Regions from separate parts of the Homo sapiens genome. Here region 1 is linked to region 2. The links are contacts of gene promoters, found by promoter capture Hi-C in blood cells and fetal thymus (Javierre and others, 2016). All regions are on one chromosome and are shown on one strand. Each heading gives the region's core, a stretch centred on a gene start or on the middle of the fragment in contact. The rest is flanking DNA. Distances are from core to core; before and after follow the strand shown.

Region 1 (3,202 bases), core at 156-2,655, 650 kb after region 2:
CACTCTAGCCTGGGCAATAAGAGTGAGACTCTGTCTCAAAAAAAAAAAAAAAAAAAAGAGAGAAAAATCAATTGTATTTTTACATTCTAGCCATGAACACTGGAAATATTTTTTAATATTATTTTAAGCAGCGAACAAATGTTAAGTTCCAATAATTTAAGAGAAGTCATGCAAGGGCTGGGCACAGTGACTCACACCTGTTAATCCCAGCACTTTGGGAGGCCAAGGCAGGAGGATCGCTTGAGCCCTGGAGTTCAAGACCAGCCTGGGCAACATAGTGACACCCCCATCTCTACAAAAAATAATTAAAATTAATTAATTAACTGGGCATGGTAACACCCGCCTGTGGTCCCAGCTACTTGGAAGGCTGAGATGGAAGGACTGCTTGAGGCTGGGAGTTTAAAGCTGCAGCGAGCCATGACCATGCCACTGTGCTCCGGCATACGTGAGAGTGAGACCCTGTCTCAAAAAAAAAACCACTCATGCAAAACCTCTATGTTTAAAAACTACAACTCTGCTAAGAGAAAAACAGAGACCTAAATAAATAAGGAAGTACATCATATTCAGGGATTTTAATACTCAATATTGTTAAGATGTTTATTCTCCCCAAATTGAGCTACAGATTCAATGTAATCTCAAACAAAATCTCAAAGAGGAGAAAGTTGGAGAGCATAAGAACATATACTATCTTATTTCAAGACTCTTTTTTTGGAGACGGAGTCTCGCTCTGTTGCCAGGCTGGAGTGCAGTGGCACGATCTCGGCTCACTGCAATCTCCGCCTCCCAGGTTCAAGTGATTCTCCTGCCTCCTGCCTCTGCCTCCCGCCTCAGCCTCCCACCTCAGCCTCCCGAGTAGCTAGGATTACAGGCGTGCACCACCACACCCAGCTAATTTTTTTTTCAAGGCTTTTATTATAAAGCTTTAGTAATCAAAACCATTTGGTACTAGTGTAACTTTAATCTACTAGATCAATGAAACAAAAACCCAAAAACAAACCTATAACTACTTTTCAAGAAAGAGCCCAACACAAGTCAATGGGAAAAGGTAAGTATTTTCAACAGATAGTGCTGGAACAACTGGATATACACATGAAAAAAAGTCATCTGGAATGTATTTTGGTATCATAATGAGGTTACTGCATTATAATAAACGTTCATAAGATAATACTTACATTTTTTATTTTGATGTTTCCCCAATCATCATCCTGTTTCAAAGACAAACAAAAGACATTTAACCACCACTGTACAAGCTGAACACAATCTAATAATCAATTTATTTTAATGTACTTCAAAACAGAATAAAATTTATCCTATATGCAGATTTTATTTAAAATTATGGCAATTAAAAAAATTTTTTTTGGCCAGGCACAGTGGCTCACGCCTGTAATCCCAGCACTTTGGGAGGCTGAGGCAGGCAAATCACCTGCGGTCAGGAGTTCGAAACCAGCCGGACCAATATAAAGAAACTCCATCTCTACTAAAAATACAAAAAGTAGCTGAGCATGGTGGTGCACACCTGTAATTCCAGCTACTCGGGAGGCTGAGACAAGATAATTGCTTGAACCCAGGAGGCAGAGGTTACAGTGAGCCGAGATCTCACCACTGCACTCCAGCCTGGGCAACAGAACAAGGCTCCATCTCAAAAAAAAACAAAAATTTTTTTTAAACACAAGTGGTACTAAAGCCAGGGTTTCAAATAATTTGCTTCAACTGCATAAGGTAACACAATACAAAAGGCAGTAACCTGTATTTACAGCATCAAATACTAAAAAACACATAAGTATAAAAAAATACTTTTAGCAAGTACTAAAAAACACTTGACTAATGACAAATGATAGATCCTATTTTTTGGATGTTTGGAACCAGCAGAGCTAATAAATAACAAGCTTACGTGGCAAGAATGAAGAGTTAATGTCTATAACGCATCTATAAAGCAAGTATATACTTTCCTTTCAATATGTTGAATAAAAATCAAGAATTTTTTTTTTAAATGCATGATTAGTCCAGAGTAATATTTTTACTAACTACAGCTAGGCCTTTCCCCTCATAGGATAAAGTCGATTCTATATTACTCCCTTTTATAGAAGGTATCGGGTACCCAATATGCTTGTCTACCCTTCATTGGTGCCACTAATTATCTCTTTTATCTGCTTTAAAATGGAACGGTAACTTCCTAAAGGCCCTTCTCAATTTAAGGTCTATGACTGCTAAACATAATGAATGATAACTATAAATGCCCCCTAAGATCACTTACCCAAGGTCACACAAAACTGGGAAGTGAACACAGATCTGCTTGATGTATAAATCATATGCTCTTTTGGTGCCTTACTATGTTACTTAAACCTCTTTGACACTCATTTATAAAATTTCCTCATATATAAGATATGGATAACATACAGCTGAGAATTAAAGAAAATATAATAAAAGCCTGACATAAAATAAGTACTCAATAAATGGTAACCATTAGCAGTCACAGTTTCATTTAATTCGCATACTTCTATAATTCTCGACAGCATACCACTAGTACAGTGTTCAGCATAGATTAGGCTATGAAGTTCACTAAAGGCCAAAGGTTCATACTGTACCTTCGGGGGTAAACAAAGATTTTCCTCCAACGTGTGTTTTACTGCCCAGTGGGGGTAGCCTGTCTTTATCTCTAAAGTTAACTATAGATCTTTAGCATTTTATCTAACCCTTGAAGGAAGTATTTTTTAAAGCTATACTTATATTATTAAAAATAATAGAGGCCGGGTGTGGTGGCTCACGCCTGTAATCCCAGCACTTTGGGAGGCCCGAGGCAGGCATATCACTTGAGGTCAGGAGTTCGAGACCAGCGCCAACATGGTGAAACACTGTCTCTACCAAAAATACAAACATTTGTCACGCATGGTGGTGGTGACCTGTTATCCCAGCTATTCGGGAGACTGAGGCAGGACAGTCACTTGAGCCCGGGAGGCGGTGGTTGCAGTTAGCCGAGATGGCGCCACTGCACTCCAGCCCCTGAGTGACAGAGGGAGACTCAATCCCAAAAAAAATAATAATAATAATAGATATCTTCTTGTCTTTTCTGCAGTCCTTCATCAATGATGCTGGCAGGGATGGATTCTTAACTGTGGTCACTGAGATCATTCCAAAGGAAGTAAAGACAAAAATTAGGTTTCTTCTCTTTTTAAACAAAAATTTTTTCCTCCCATCTCCAGGT
Region 2 (3,264 bases), core at 202-2,701:
ACAGTCAATGACAAATGAAGTTTTAGTAGCTAAGAAAATACAGCATCGTTCCACATTATGTGTCTCTTTAACGCCTACGCCTACCTTTCGTTCATTTAGTGAGCTGAAGAAAAAAATGTTCAAACCCTTATATGCATTTCCTTAAGTTCCTAGAATACCGGAATACTGACACATATGATTGCACTATTTCCTATCCGTCGAAGATGATTCTGAATTTCACTAAAAACCGCAAAGGAAACCAATAGTCACAAAATAATTCTGATAACCCCACCAAAGAGGAAATAAAGAGAGGAAGTTACTCTAAAAGTCTGATAGGGCAAAAGTGACTGCAGCAGAAGGGCCTCAAGGTTCAGTCCATGAGGACCTTGATTAACCTTCATCTTTACGCCCCCACCCCATCCTTCCGGGTCCTCCCCCTTCTTCAACGACTGGCTTTACAAGGCTCATAGGAAAGGTGCGTGTATTCAGACGGACACGATTCCAGCTGTGGCTCCTCCACTTTCAGGGTCGCTGTTTCCACAGTTGACAAGCAGGAGAACCATACTTGTTGCACTTCCCTCACTGGGCTGCCGCCAGCATCATATAGAAAAACGCTGTCCCAACATAAGCCAAAGCCACCATGACTGGGATAGTCGCCAAACAGAACTCAGCTTCGGTTCCCCTCCCGGCAAGGCTGGTTCGACCTACAGTCAACAGGAAGCTCCTGGGGGCAGGGACAGGATCCCTGCCTCGGAAGGAGGCAAGACGTGAACGTTTTTTGGACGGCGATCAGGATGGTGATGAGGGTGTGAGTAACGCCCCCGGCTCACGCGGTTGGGCTTGAGATTTTACTACCAACGACAAAGGGTGCGGAAGCGTAGCGCTGAGAAGCAAACAGCCAACCAAAAAAACTCAACCCCGTCCTCCCCCACAAAAGCAAGCCCCAAAGCCCTGGCCACTACTGAGAGCTGGGCCAAGGAACAGAGAAAGGCAGAGGGGCAGAATCGGAGCGCTCCATTCAATCTCCGCGGCAGCCGAGCGTCGGTGGGTTCGCGGGTGGGAAGGGACGCCGCGGGCCTGCTCTCCGGGCAGGGAAGCACCTCCTCCTCACGCCCCCTCGGCCTGCACCGCCCCCGGGAATCCGCCCCGGACCCCGCCGCCATGTTGGGTCGGGAGAAGTGACACGGACCGGTCGCCTATCCTGACCACAGCAAAGCGGCCCGGAGCCCGCGGAGGGGACCTGACGGGGGCGTAGGCGCCGGAAGGCTGGGGGCCCCGGAGCCGGGCCGGCGTGGCCCGAGTTCCGGTGAGCGGACGGCGGCGCGCGCAGGTACCCGCAGCCCCCGCCCCCGCTAGAAGTCAGGGGGCGGGGCCGGGGGGGGGGGGCGGAGGAGGTGGAGAGTGAGGCCGAGGCGTGGGGAGCCCGGGAACTCCCTCCTCCTGAAGTAACGCGTCCCGGGCCGGCTCTGCCGTCGTTGCTGCCGCCGGGCGCCCCGGGACGAGGAGGTGGAGGAGGGAGAGGGCCCGCGGGCCTCGCCTCCGCCCTCCGCCACCTCGAGCTGCGGTAGCAGCGACTCATGAGAGCGCGGCCGGAGGACAGGTAAGGACCCGGTGGGGCCCCGCGGGCGGAGGGTTCCACCTCTGCCCGGACAGGGCTAGGCCCCAGCGCCCGGAGCCGCCGCCGCCGCCGCCGCCGCGGTTCCCCGCCCCCGCGGGCCCGAGTCGGGAAGTTGGGAAGAAACTTCTCCCCTCCCCCGGATCGCCCGGCGGGCTTGTCTCGTTCCCCGCGCTACCTGCTCGCCCCTGACTCGGTCTCTGCCCTGTCCAGACCTGCCGGGTCCCGCCCAAGTCCGACCTGAGGTTCCAGGGGCGTGGGGACACTCCCCACCCCTTGTCTTTGGGGTCGTGTGGACCGCCCGGCGACGGGGAGGAGAGGTTTATTTTTGCCCCTACGGCCGAAGTAGGGGCGAGGGAAGCGGCCCCTTTGGGTCCTAAAGGCTGGGGGTCTGTGTATCGGCCGACGCCGGTAGCAGCTGTGCGGGGAGAGGAGCGGGTGTGTGGGGCGAGTGGATGAGCCTTTCTGGCTTTACTTGGTTTGATTGAAAACCGCAACATGTTTAAAGTTTTCCTTTGTTTTGGGTTGGGGGTTGGGAAATTTACCATTCAGCGTCCACTTTTACGGAATCATGCCACTCCGCCTCCCGTTGCGTTCGGTTCCCTGTCCACATGTGTTAAAGAAAATTGTCTTAAAGTGTGTTTTTCTTCTTGATAATTGCTTCCAGCTTTCACTTTATTGGGCATGGGGCAGAGCTGTTTTAAGAAGCTCTTTGAAAATCAAGTCTGGTGTAGGGACTTTAGTTTTTGTTTTGTAATGAGTAGGACTTAACAGTTCGGATTTGGTTGAATCATTTTCTGCATAATTAATTGATACAGGCGTGGAATAACATACTGTATAATTATAAATTACTAAAGGAAATAATGAAAGTCTTTGGTGGAAGCACAATTTTATGTCCATTTATTATGTATATACGTTCCACGGGTGTGTGTTTTCACAGTCGATTTCACATGATATGATTATAGTATCTTCATGTATTATAACTGTAAGATTACAGTGCCAAAGATACCTTGATAATTTTAAATATTTAAACCATCCTGTTACACTTCTAAAGTTAAATTACGCACTAAGGAAAGTATTACTAAATGTATACACGTGACTGTGCATTTAAGGAAAAGTGCATGGTAAATCTAATATCTTAACTATCACAGTGCTTGGCACACGGTGGACAGGAAGCATTTTGAATGGTCAGGTAATAAAGGAGTATCTTGTATTAGCCAAGGATCTTGTATGCATCACTTACGATGTTCATATATTGTACAGTAAGAAAGTTTTACTTTAGCAAATAATATATATGGTTTTTTGGTTTTTGTTTGTTTGCTTATAAGTGTGAGACCCCTGCCACAATTGACATGTAAGGAAAGGAAGTTAAATTGTATTTTTATTTTTGGACATTAGCTAAAAGTCGGTGGAGATTTTAAATGCTGGTTGACAATTCAGAGGGTCCTACATTTGAAAAAGACAATTGCCTTTGATCTGAAAACAAAACAGTTTATATCCATGTTTCCAGGATAAAAGATAAAAGGGCTCTTAAAATATATACTCTGTTGTAACCACTGTAATGTTATAATGGCTTTAATTTCGTAGTTAGGTTTTGCTGACTTCATAAACCACAAAATTGATTCCTTTCTGTTCATCTGAAAGTGAAATTACAGCTTTGACCTGTCTTC

The links. The method cuts DNA at HindIII sites, captures the fragments that hold promoters and counts their contacts. A CHiCAGO score of 5 or more calls a contact.
Region 1: a fragment that was not itself captured here is called in contact with the fragment with the promoter of YES1 in region 2 in 1 of 17 cell types (activated CD4 T cells); the score reaches 6.1 in activated CD4 T cells.

Annotation. Positions count from the first base shown.
Region 1 is chr18:164,790-167,991 of GRCh38, reverse strand. USP14 (ubiquitin specific peptidase 14) reads right to left here. Exons shown (of 16, transcript NM_005151.4): 3 at 1,173-1,205. Among named protein-coding and RNA genes, the nearest start is that of USP14, 7.8 kb to the right of the region's middle. The HindIII fragment of the contact is 966 bases long and covers 923-1,888 here.
Region 2 is chr18:810,429-813,692 of GRCh38, reverse strand. YES1 (YES proto-oncogene 1, Src family tyrosine kinase) reads left to right here and starts at 1,451. Exons shown (of 12, transcript NM_005433.4): 1 at 1,451-1,579. RefSeq lists enhancers at 249-790, 791-1,333 and silencers at 1,065-1,574, 1,625-1,684, 1,755-1,844. The HindIII fragment of the contact is 10,737 bases long and covers 1-3,264 here.